Linked DNA regions of Homo sapiens: all the other regions are linked to region 3. The links are contacts of gene promoters, found by promoter capture Hi-C in blood cells and fetal thymus (Javierre and others, 2016). All regions are on one chromosome and are shown on one strand. The core of a region is centred on a gene start or on the middle of the fragment in contact, and the rest is flanking DNA. Distances in the headings are between cores, read along the strand shown.

Region 1 (4,144 bases), core at 1,040-3,539, 800 kb before region 3:
TCATCATTTGCATGATAAAACTTTTTGGTTTCTGCGACTTCTCATCACAACCCAAGCATTCCTTTCTATTGATCCCAAGTCTTTAGACAAACTCAATCAATTGTCAACCAGCAAATGTTTAAATTTACCTGTGGCCTGGATCCCCCACCCGCTTCTTTGTGTTGTCCCGCGTTTCTGGACCAAACCAATGTATTTCTTAAATGTACTTGATTAATGTTTCATGCCTCCCTAAAATGTATAAAACCAAGCTGCATCCTTGGGCACATGTCCTTAGGACTTCCCGAGGCTGTGTCACGGGCATGCATCCTCAACCTGGGCGAGAGACCTGTCTGACATTTTCTGGGTTCACAAAAGCCACATCAAAGAGGTGATGAAGTAGAGATAGCTTGTGTAGAAAACTCTTTTGAGAAGTTTTTCCCTGAAGGGAGGAAGAAATTTGGTAGCTAGATGGAGATGTAAGGTCCAGGAAAGGATTTTATTTAAGCTAGGATATCCCAGAACAAATTTGCATGTAAGAAGGATCTAAAAGAGATGGGAAAATTGGTGATGCGAGCAAGGGAGGGCAGCAGGGGGAAGACTAAAGGAGAAAAGAAGGTAAGAGGGGATGGTGAGAAGGCATTGAGCTTTAAGCAAAGGATAGCTCCTTCATTTTAAGAATATGACAAAAGGAAAGCAAGTTCATTGGCTCAGAATAAGTTGGGAGAGGTGGTATTGGTGGTTTGAGGAAAGAGAAATACTTATGGACTAATCAGCTCAAAGAGTGGGAAGAGTAAACTTGGGGAAAAGTGGTAAGATTGTCAGATAATATGTTGATTTGAGGTTTGTGAACATGAATTTATTATAAAACATGGTGGGGTTATTTTTTCCTGTGATATTCAGCAAAAGTAGGGCAGGCACAGAGAAGGCAAACATAGGATGATACCATTCATAATATTTTGTAATATATTTCTCTCACTCAGTAATGTATTATGAACCTCTTTCCATGTTGAGTATAGTTTTACAGATCACCTTAAGTACTACATAGTATTCTATTATGTAAGTGTGTTACAGTACTTATCACCTACTGTTGAACAATTACATTTCTGGCTTACCTATGTTGTATACAATGTGATAAAATACCTTGTAATCAAAGCTTTATCTACAAACTTAAATGTTTCCTTAGGATAAATGTCATAGGCCGAAAGAATGAGGGTCGTGATCAACTCAGTATACCACTGGAGGCTATATGAGTGGGCAGCAAACTGTTCTCATCAATGCAGAATGTTGGTAAACTGACAAACTGCATCTGCTGCCCAGAAGGAATGCTGAGGGTAGTCACGACCCAAGCACAGTGTTTCTTGCGATTAGGTACATCTGAAGCCGGTTGGTAATAATATGAACCTGTTATCAATTAAGCAGCCAACCAATCATTACCTCCTCCTCCCTGCTCTTGCTACCCAATAAATATGAAGGGCTGTGGAAGCTCAGGGGCTGCCTATGCTCACTAGAAGCAGGGAGCTCTCTTCTTCTTCCCCTGGACCCTTCCTTTAAAACAGTTTCTTTTGTCTTAAGTTTTCATTTCTATGTTCGTCCCTTCATTCAGTCTTGTAATGATGGTCTCAAGTAGTGACAGTAGTAACTGTCATAGTGACGGTCTCAAGTAGTAACAGTGGCAGTTGGCCACAGATAAGTCTCTGTAATTGGAATCTCCGAGTCAAAGGATATATAAATTTTAAAAACTATTGTTGTATATTGCCAGATTTTTTTCAGAAAAGATTATACCAGTTGATTTACTCCTTCCCTGTGTTAAATACAGTGAGTTCTAAGTTTCTCTTCAAAGAATCAGTATGTCAGTATGTTCAGGTCCTTGTTCTCCATTTTAAAGTTTAACTTTCTCATTCTCTTCATCTCCTTGCCCCTAGTTTCAGTAAACAACCTTTCTGCCAGTTCTAATCAGTAGTTCACATCTGTTCCCCTGGTCACCTGCTCCATCCTGAATCACCCCTGGTCACCTGCTCTGACCTGAGTCTCCCTTAGTCACCTGTTCCATAACCACCTTTCCCACCAAAACTGCTCACCCCGCCTCTCTGGCTTGTACACCTGGTCTCTTTAAAATGGCCAATTGGAATTAGTTTAGACTGTGTGGTCCAACCCTAGCCAATAGGGGAACGACACAGCAGTAGGAGCAACCTGTGTCAGGGATAAGAATCCCTTCCCCTCCCTTGTTCAGGTGTGTTCTCGCCATTGCTCCATCTGTGAGACACACCCTTCTATAGAAGTAAAATTGCCTTGCTGAGAAAATTTATGTTTGAGTGCTATTTCTTTTGTGGCACCGAAAATTTATTTCCAACACCTGGACATCAAGTGATGAAAATAACTTTTTCATACTCTAGTCAGTGCTGCTATTTTCATTCTATCTTATCTGTGGATGTTTCATAGGCAATAAATTATAACTAACTCATTTTCACTTGCATTTATTAATTACGAATGAACTTAAACCTTTGTAAAAGTGTTTTTGTTTTAAAATTATTTTTATTGCTGTTTGTTTTTAATTATTTTGTGAATGACTTGTTCTGCTTTGTTTTGTTTTTCTATTGGTATTATATTGGTCACTAATTTTTTACTGAGATATATTTGACATCTCTTAAATTGCTATCCATTTTCTTACTGTTTTTATTCTACAAATAAATATTATAAATATTTATAAGACATAGTTTATCAACTTAACAAAATGATTTGAGATGCCCTATAGTATTAAAACATAAGGTAGGATAGATTAAAAATAGATTGGAAAGGAAATTAGAAATTAAGAAGAGAAACTATTTGAGGAATCCAGGATAAAATATTTATTTTTTATGAGTGCTAAATTTATCTCTGTGCTTCATAGCAGCCAATAGAAAAGAGAAGTACATATTTTTGTTTTTTTTGGTTTTAATTATCATTATCTGACAGAATGTGTTTATCTTGAGAGGCAAAATTTTCCCCAACAGTGGAATCTGGGAGTTTATTTCATGGTCTCTTGTACAGAAAACAGTAACAATGGATGCATAATAAGTACTCACAATATTAACTATTATATTATCTAAATGACAGTTTGCAAGAATACTTTTTGAAAATGAAGTATGCAAGTTCATACTTGACAGCTAGGTCGGTACTTCAAAGGCCTGTTTTGCTTTCAGGTTCTGGGTGGTGTTTCAAGTAGTTGAGGTTGCCTGAAACCTGGCCTCCATATTACTGGGATATTTCTATTCTTGAATTTTTCTAGGTATGTACTTTGTGGATAGAAGTAGTTCTATATTTGGATAAAGTATTTAAGATAAATAAACTATTAAAAGGTGATTTCTGTTATCTTCCCTAAGAAAAAGAAATGAATTTCATGCAATTCTTAGCATGTTATATGAAATTCATTTCCAAGTTGGCTGATGAAAAATAATCTTCCCATTTCATACTGTCAGACCAAAGCTTTTAAGTAGGAAAATGTACTTTAGAGTCAAGACAGTATAAGTATGTGATGGCCAGATATTCACAATAAAAATTTTTAATAATATTGGATATTCAGGAAGAACTACGAATCTAACCCATCTTTTGGTCTTCAGTTTACTATGATTTTTGAGGAAACAGAGAATACTTATACTTCCTGGTACCTTCCTAGCTAAGAATGTGTTTATTTTTTTCTACACGTGTAGTTTCTGCCAGCTATTGTCTTTCTAACCTTTTAGGAACAGTAAGATGCTGACATCGGAGTTTGAGCTCACAGTGAGCTGTTTTGTGCCACTGCACTACAACTTGGGCAACAGAGCACGACTCTGTCTCTTGATAAAAAAGACACCAAATGCAGTAGTGCTGTTTGTGAACATAGATTTGAGTGACACAAGAGTAACAGATAATCACTTGTTTCTAGAGTTAGAAGCCAAAATGCCTGTTTTTCCTACCAAGTGCTAAACCCTGAAGTATTCTCATCTGTGATGTAAACTTTGGTCACATTGTGTCCAAAATTGGTGGGTTCTTGGTCTCACTGACTTCAAGAATGAAGCTGCAGACCCTCCTGGTGTTACAGTTCTTAAAGATGGTGTGTCCGGAGTTTCTTCCTTCTGGTGGGTTCGTGGTCTCGCTAGCTTCAGGATTGAAACTGCAGACCTTCACGGTGAGTGTTACAGCTCTTAAA
Region 2 (3,857 bases), core at 935-3,434, 580 kb before region 3:
GATATGGAAATGACAATACTAAAATTCATATGGAATTGCAATGAGTCCAAGTAGCCAAATCAATTTAGAAAACAAAATAAAAAGTTGGAAGACTCACACTTTCCAATTTCAAAACTTATTATAACACTACAGTAATCCAAACAATGTGGCACTAGCATAAGGATAGACAATGGCATCTATAAATCACTGAAATGGAATTGAGAATCCAGAAATAAACCCAAACATCTATGTATAATTGATTTTCAACCAGGATGCCAAGACCATACAATGGGGAAAGAACAGTCTCTTCAACAAATGGTTCTGGGAAAACTGGATATCCACATGCAAAAGAATGAAGTTGGACCTTTACCTAACATTATGTATAAAAATTAACTCAAAATAGTTCAAAGACCTAAATATAAGAGCTAAAACTGTACCAATATTAGAAGAAAACTTGGGAATAAATCATGATGTTGAATCAGGCAATGGTTTCTTAGATATGGCACCAAAAGCACAAGTAACAAAATTTTAAAAACCATAAAATGGACTTCATCAAAATTCAAAACCTTAGTGCATCAAAAGACATTATTAAGAGGTGAAAAGACAGAATGAGAGAACATATTTGCAAATCATATATCTGATAACTAGATAAGGGTCCATATATCTGATAACTAGATAAGGATCTAGTGTTCAGAATATATGAGTAACTCCTACAACTCAATAATAATGAGAAAAGCAACCCAATTTAAAAATGAGCAAATGACTTGAATAGACATTTCTCTAAAGGAGATATGCAAATGGCCAGTAAGCACATGAAAAGAGGCTCAATATTAATCACTGGGGAAATGCAAATCAAAACAACAATTAGATATCACTTCACACCCATTAGGATGCTAATAATAACAATAATGGCAGAAAATAACAAATGTTGGTGAGAATGTAGATAAACTGAACCATCAACGAGAATTTAAAATTGTGCAATCATGGCAAAAAACATTCTGGAAGTTACTCAAAAGCTTACACATAAAGTTACTATATCATCCAGCAATTCCACTCCAAGATATTTACTCAAGAGACTCAAAAACAAATATCCAACCAAAAATATGCTCACAAATGTTCATAGAAACACTATTCACAGTAGCCCAACAGTGGTAACAACCCGAGTGTCCCTTAATAGATAAATGTATAAATGAAATGTGGTATATATACACACAATGGAATACTATTCAGCCATAAAAAGAAATAAAACAGGTCCTGTCATTTGCAACATGAAATAAGGCAGGCAAGAAAGACAAAACATTGTGTGTTCTTACTTATTTGTGGGATCTAAAAGTCAAAACGACTGAATTCATGGAGATAGAGAGTAGAAGGATGGCTACCAGAGACTGGGAAAGGTTGTAATGGGCTGGGGTGAAGGAAGGTGGGGATAGTTAATGGATAAAAAAAAAATAGTTAGAAAGAATGAATCAGACCTAGTATTTGATAGCACAACAGTGTGACTATAGTCAATAATAATTTAATTGTACATTTTAAAATAACTAAAAGAGTGTAATTGGATTGTTTATAACACTGATATGGTTTGGATTTGTGTCCCCGCCCAAATCTAATGTCAAATTGTAATCCCCAATGTTGGAGGAGGGGCCTAGTGGGAGATTATTGGATCATGGGGGCAGATTTCCTCCTCGCTGTTCTCCTGATGGTGAGTTCTCATGAGATCTCGTTGTTTAAAAGTGTGTAGCACCTCTACCTCCCTGTTTGCTCTCTTCCTTCTGCTCCAGCCATGTAGGACGTTCCTGCTTCCCCTCTGCCTTCTGCCATGATTGTAAGTTTCCTGAGGCTTCCCCAGCCATGCTTCCTGTACAGCCTGTGGAAATGTGAGCCAATTTTAAACCTCTTTTCTTTATAAGTTACCCAGTCTCAGGTAGTTCTTTATAACAATGCGAGAATGGACTAATATGAACACAAAGGATAAATGCTTGAGGGAATGGATACCCCATTTTACATGATATGATTATTATGCATTGCATGCCTATATTGAAACATCTCATGTACCCCATAAATATATACATATACTATGTACCCATAAAATTAAAATAAAAAATGTTAAAAGCATGATACATAAAATGAAAATTGGTAAGTTAGACCTCATCAGAATTTTAAAGCCTTTTGCTCTGCAAAAACTCTAAGGATAAAATGACAAGCAACAGACTGGGATATTTGTAAATCTAGGACTAGTATCTAGAACATATTTTTAAAATTCAAAATTCAATAATTAGGAAATGGACAAAAGATATAGACATTTCATTGAAAGGAGTATGCAAATTGCAAATAAGGCCATGAAAAGAGAAAATACATCATTAGCCACCAGGGGGAACTGCAAATTAAAAGCACAATGAGATACCCCTATAAACCTACCAGAATGTCTAAACTTAAAAATACCTGGGCTGGGTGAGCTGGCTCATGCCTGTAATCCCAGCACTTTGGGAGGCTGAGGTGGGCAGATCACTCGAGACCAAGAGTTTAAGACCAGCCTGGTGAAACCCCGTCTCTACTAAAAATACAAAAATTAGCCGGGTGTGGTAGTGTATGCCTGTAATCCCAGGAGGCTGAGGCATGAGGATCTCTTGAACCCAGGAGGTGGAGGCTGCCGTGAGCCAAGATTGCACCACTGCACTCCAGTCTGGAAAACAGAGTAAGACTCTGTTTCAAAAAAAAAAAAAAAGTGATAACATCAATGGTGGTTAGGATGCAGAGAAACTGGATCACTGATACATTGTTGGTGGGAATATAAAATAGTACATTCTCTATGGAAAACAGCTTTGTGTTTTCTTAGAAAAATAAAAATGTAATTACCACATGCCCCTGAAACTGTGCTCTTGAGAATTTATCTCAGAGAAATGAAAAATGATGCTATTGAAGAATTCTGTACTTAAGTGACTGTAGAAGAATGCTGCATTGGGTAGAAATAGCCAAGGTCTAGTATCTTCATAGTGCTCAGTTTTTGTCTGGGAACTTTCCAGCAAGAATTTGGCACTCCATCAAACCGCATGTCAGATCCCCAAACTGCTGCAGCTGAAGGCTTTCAGCTAAATGCACCTACTGTGGAGGTACTTTCCTGAAGGGAGAGCAAGGTGGTACACCACACGGCTGCTGCACAAATGTACAAAAAATTCAATATGTAGAGGACTTGAAAAACCCAATTAATAAACTTGATCTAATTGACATATATAGAACGCTGCATCCAATTACTGCAGAACACGTATAGCTTTCAGATACATATAAAACATCTATAAAAGTTGAGCATATGCTGGGTCATAAATCAATTTATAATTCTATTGAGCTCAAAATTAAAAATCGCTAAAAATCTACATTTGAAATTTAAGCAAGAAGCTTCCAAAGTAATTAAAAAATTAAAGAAGAAATAACCATGAGTACTTAACAACACACTGAACTAAAGGACTATAACAATATATCATAGTTTTGTTTGCTTAGGATTGTCTTGGCTATACGGGCTCTATTTTGATTCCATATGAAATTTAAAATAATTTTTTCTAATTCTGTGAGGAAAGTCAATGGTAGCTTAATGAGGATAGCATTGAATCTATAAATTACTATGAGCAGTATGGCCATTTTCACGATATTGATTCTTCCTATCCATGAGCATGGAATGTTTTTCCATTTGATTGTGTCCTCTCTTATTTCCTCGAGCAGTGATTTGTAGTTCTCCTTGAAGAGGTCCTTCACATCCCCTGTAAGTTGTATTCCTAGGTATTTTATTCTCTTTTTAGCAATTGTGAATGGGAGTTCACTCATGATTTGGCTCTCTATTATTGGTATATAGGAATGCTTGTGATTTTTGCACATTGATTTTGTATCCT
Region 3 (4,118 bases), core at 960-3,459:
AGTGGGGTTTGGAATATAAAAAGGAATTAAAGCAAAATAACAGGATTAACTGTTTTTGCAATGAAATCTTAGCAGAGACCAAAGAAGAGGAGGGAAACTGAATTGAGGCTAGAGCTGCACTCTATCTGTTAGAAGCAATCTGGGACACATGCACAAGTGGCTGAGTGTATAAAGTTATAATGGACAAAGCTAAATTCCTGGAATCCTGGGAACTAAGGAGGTGGGCTTGAGAAGTATACTATGGTATGATTTGAAGTTTAAATTAAAATGTTACCGAAAGGTTTCACCACGTCAAGTATTGAAGCTACTGGGGATCTCTGAGATCACTGAGGTCCATCAGGAGGAAAGGCAATGTCACTGTCAATTTACGTGAAGGAATGGATCAATGGGGAAATGCCTCTAAACGTATATGCTCTCTGTCACTAAGAAAATTACTGATATCTCACTGGCATTTAAGGGGAGACAGAACATGAAATACACTGAGCAAGGCCAGGTGTGGTGGCTCACGCCTGAAATTCCAGCACTTGGGGAGGTCGAGGTGGGCAGACTGCTTGAGCCAGGAGTTCGAGACCAGCCTGGCCAACATGGTGAAACCCCGTCTGTACAAAAAAAAAAGACAGCCGGGTGTGGTGGCGGGCACCTGTAATCTCAGCTATTCGGGAGTCTGAAGTATGAGAATCGCTTGAACCTGGGAGGCGGAGGTTGCAGTGAGCAGAGATCGCGCCACTGCACTCCAGCCTGGGCGACAGAGTGAGGCTCTGTCTCACCCCTAAAACGCAACAATTATGATAATGCTTATTAAGATGTTTATCCCATATCTCAACTGAATAGGAGGTAAGGCAGAAACCAAAGTTCAAGGTTGTATCATTAAGGGAGCCCCGGAGTGATAATGGTAATTAATTTAAGACACGATCCGGACACAATACTGCCAAAGTCGCCATAATTTTAGGTTAACAATGACTTAGAGATTATAAGATATGAGTAAACAAATACAGTCTTACCTTGTATCATCGTTCAACTAGAGTGGGAAAAAGCAAAAAACATTATTGATCACATTACGTTTGTTTGACATATATGGATGCAGATTATATGACAATTAGGTCATGTGTTCACGCACATGGTATGAAAGACTGGAGAATTACTTTAGACTGTAAACAGCTAAACTGTATTTCCTCATCCTCTTCGGCCCCTCCTCAACACAATGCAGCGGAAACTTTTGCTTCCTTCAAGCCCCGCACCTTCTGTTAGGCTCTTCGATACCCTTCAAATGCTTTGGTTGATATCTCTGCTCCCTAGACAGAAGACTCGAGGCGAGGCAAGGGGCTCTAACTGTGGTCAGCTGCTGCGTCGTAATACCCGGACATCCTCATTATACTCCAGTGTCTTTCTGACCTGCCTTGCAGTTTTGGTCAACCGGGCGAAAAGCGCAGATCTAAAGAGAAGCCCCAGGCTACAGGAGAAAGGGCAAGGCTCCCGGGGCCTGTACAGACCGCCGGGGGCTCGCAGGAGACTAAACAAGTGTCAGGCGGCCAGAAGAAACGGGGCTCCCCGCGACAGAGCTATGTAAAGGGTGTCCAAGGACCTAAATCGAGGATGCCTGTGGCCTCCGCAGCCCTGGGAGCTGCCGGCACCCACCCCGGGGACACACTGGGACTGCTCAGCAGGGTTCCATCCAGGCTAACAGACCTACTCACCTCCCCTATGCACAGCCCCATTACTTCCTCCTTCTCTGTGCTCAGAGCGTGGTTGAGACAAACGAGGAAAGCGTCAGACTCGAGATGAACCGCCTGCACCGCCTGCACCACCTGCACCGCCATCTTGGCCCGACCCTTCTCACGTCCGCCTCGGGCCCACTTGGTCCTGACCAACCGGGTGCTGCGGCGCAGCCTCCCCAGCGCCCAGCGCTGTGCGCTCCGCCCAGGCCTGGCCTTCGGCGCGCGGGTTCCTAGGGGGCGGGGCTTAGGGAGCGGGCGGGGCTGTGGGGGCGGGGCTGTGGGGGCGAGGAGGGGGCAGCGGGCGCGCGGCTGGCGCGCGGGGGCGGGCCTTGGGGCACGGGGGCGGGGCCCGCCCAGCAGCACCTGGGAAACGCCCGCGCGGTTTGGGGCAGGCGTGGCCGTCGGGGCGGAGGGCGGTGGCCGGCCGCGGTCCGGGCGTCAGGCCGGGCGGCGGGGGCGGCAGGGAGGCGGCGCTCTGGGGCCGCAGGCGGACGTACTCTGTGAGCGGCGCCCGGGCGCCTGGGCAGGCGCCTCCCGAGTACCGGCGCCCATTTTGCCCGCCCGCTAAGGAGACCCGTGCGCGGCCTACACGCTTGGGGGACAGCCCTTTAAGACGACATCTCCGCGAACGCCGGCCTCTTGAGCCAGGGGGACGCTCTTTTGAAAGTCAGTCCCAAAACAGTTAAGGTTTTATTTTATTTTGTTTTATTTCCAAGTCACAGCCCCCGAATCTCGTACAACTCTCCCTGGACCACTTCCGGTTGCCGGCCCGCGCCTCATAACTTCGGTTCGAGTGACCTCGGCCCGGGATGCCCCTCGGCTCACCCCGGGCTCACGTCGCGATCCTGGCTTGAGTGGCCCAGGGTGGGAGACCTGGAAGTTTTAGCCTAGCTGTTCTCAAGGCGGATTAATTAGCCCAAGAAACATTATATTCATGTGAGTAACCTTTTGCAGAAACAGTGTTATACTGTATCTGAAAAAGTATCACTCTTAAGCTTGGCTGCTGCTACTTTCTACAAAGGCTTTTAGGTAGCTATTTGTTGGATACAGGGAAGGGGAAATGGAGAACTTCAGTTTTTATTCAAGTTCGGATGTATCACATTAGGTATCCAGAATGCAAGTTTCCTCGGGTCTCCTTGTCTCGATGATATCAGACAGTAAAAATATATGTAAAAGTAATTTTTATTTCGAGGTATGTCAAACGTGCCAAGGATAAAAGTACAGATCTTCCAACTCACAAGTCTAGGAATCACACGTGGATTTTGAAAGCGATTCTAAATCAAAGCACAATATATGCCGTGCCGCCTCCACAGCCCGTCCGTGTTCGTGTCTTTGATTTGGTTTTCTACTTTGTGTAGTTTTGAAGCCAGGCAGGTATGGCAGTACTGGAAAGGGAACATTCCCAAGGTGCTACTTGAAGTGTTGATGCTTTGCTCTTTTCTCCCAAGTCAGTTCCAACCCAAGTCTCCCCACACATAGGGTCCCCATCCAGTGCAACGATCTGTAATGTGCACGCCAGCAGCCTCCGTTTTTACCTAACGATCTGTAAGGATCACATGGCACATCTTTCTATAATTAATTTGATCATGATGAAGGTTGGAAAATTTTCGTGTGCAGTTACATTGGACCTGTCTAAATTTTCTCTTGTTTCAATTTTATATCATATGTTATTTTCAGTTACTGTTTGTGGCTAGTATGCCCCGTCCTCATGGAGCAGGAACGGCTGTTCTTATTATTATGACATTAACATTTGGTGATGGGATATAGTGCCTTTAGGCACTTTCAAGAAGAAAAATACCTTTTGTTTGTTATCGGCGGTAGTCAATCTCATATTCCAGAATGAGGTTCACTAACTTTTCTAATGCTCATGGCTGCCTTTTACAGCTCCAGGCATTTAACTGGAGTAGAACAAAATTATTAACATTTATGGCAAGCTTATTATATGCTAGATACTAAGCATTTATATGCCTGGTACATGTAAACTGCCCCATTTGGAGTCAAGCTCAACAACTTCCCCACTGTGTGACCTTGAGCAAGTTACCTAACTTCTCTGTGCCTTTCTTTTCCTCACCTTTAAGTGGGGATGATAATAATTCTGCCCACCTCATAGCGCCCTATGAAGATTGTGAAAATTAAATGAGTCAATATATGTAAACATATAGGAAATGCTAAATAAAGACTATCATGATTAATATGTTCTTTAATTCTCATTTTACACCTCAGGAAACTGAGGTGGAGAGACGTTAACTTGTCCAAGGTCACAAAGCTAGTAAGTGACAGACTCAGGACTCATACACAGGCCTGGGCCTGTGTTCTTGGTAATTTCACTCATTGTAATTGGACGAGTTTATTAATTGACTTCTAATAAAATAAGTGTATTCAACTGATCAATGTTTAAAAACT

Evidence for each region. Contacts are between HindIII fragments. The CHiCAGO score rates a contact against its expected background, and 5 or more counts as called.
Region 1: a fragment that was not itself captured here is called in contact with the fragment with the promoter of CMC4 in region 3 in 2 of 17 cell types (erythroblasts and total B cells); the score reaches 7.1 in erythroblasts.
Region 2: a contact is called between a fragment that was not itself captured here and the fragment with the promoter of CMC4 in region 3, in 1 of 17 cell types (naive CD4 T cells). The highest score is 7.2, in naive CD4 T cells.

Annotation. Positions count from the first base shown.
Region 1 is chrX:155,866,124-155,870,267 of GRCh38, reverse strand. No RefSeq gene overlaps it. Among named protein-coding and RNA genes, the nearest start is that of VAMP7, 13 kb to the left of the region's middle. The HindIII fragment of the contact is 2,309 bases long and covers 1,135-3,443 here.
Region 2 is chrX:155,649,923-155,653,779 of GRCh38, reverse strand. The region is part of intron 1 of SPRY3 (sprouty RTK signaling antagonist 3); the gene reads right to left. Among named protein-coding and RNA genes, the nearest start is that of TMLHE, 39 kb to the right of the region's middle. The HindIII fragment of the contact is 2,374 bases long and covers 998-3,371 here.
Region 3 is chrX:155,069,227-155,073,344 of GRCh38, reverse strand. CMC4 (C-X9-C motif containing 4) reads left to right here and starts at 2,209. Exons shown (of 3, transcript NM_001018024.3): 1 at 2,209-2,651. MTCP1 (mature T cell proliferation 1) reads left to right here and starts at 2,209. Exons shown (of 5, transcript NM_001018025.4): 1 at 2,209-2,651. It overlaps BRCC3 (BRCA1/BRCA2-containing complex subunit 3), which reads right to left and starts at 1,837. Exons shown (of 11, transcript NM_001018055.3): 1 at 1,695-1,837; 2 at 1,002-1,018. The coding sequence starts at 1,817. RefSeq lists enhancers at 854-1,575, 1,532-1,581, 1,592-1,811, 1,576-2,297, 2,282-2,581 and a silencer at 1,922-2,241. The HindIII fragment of the contact is 6,678 bases long and covers 1-2,712 here.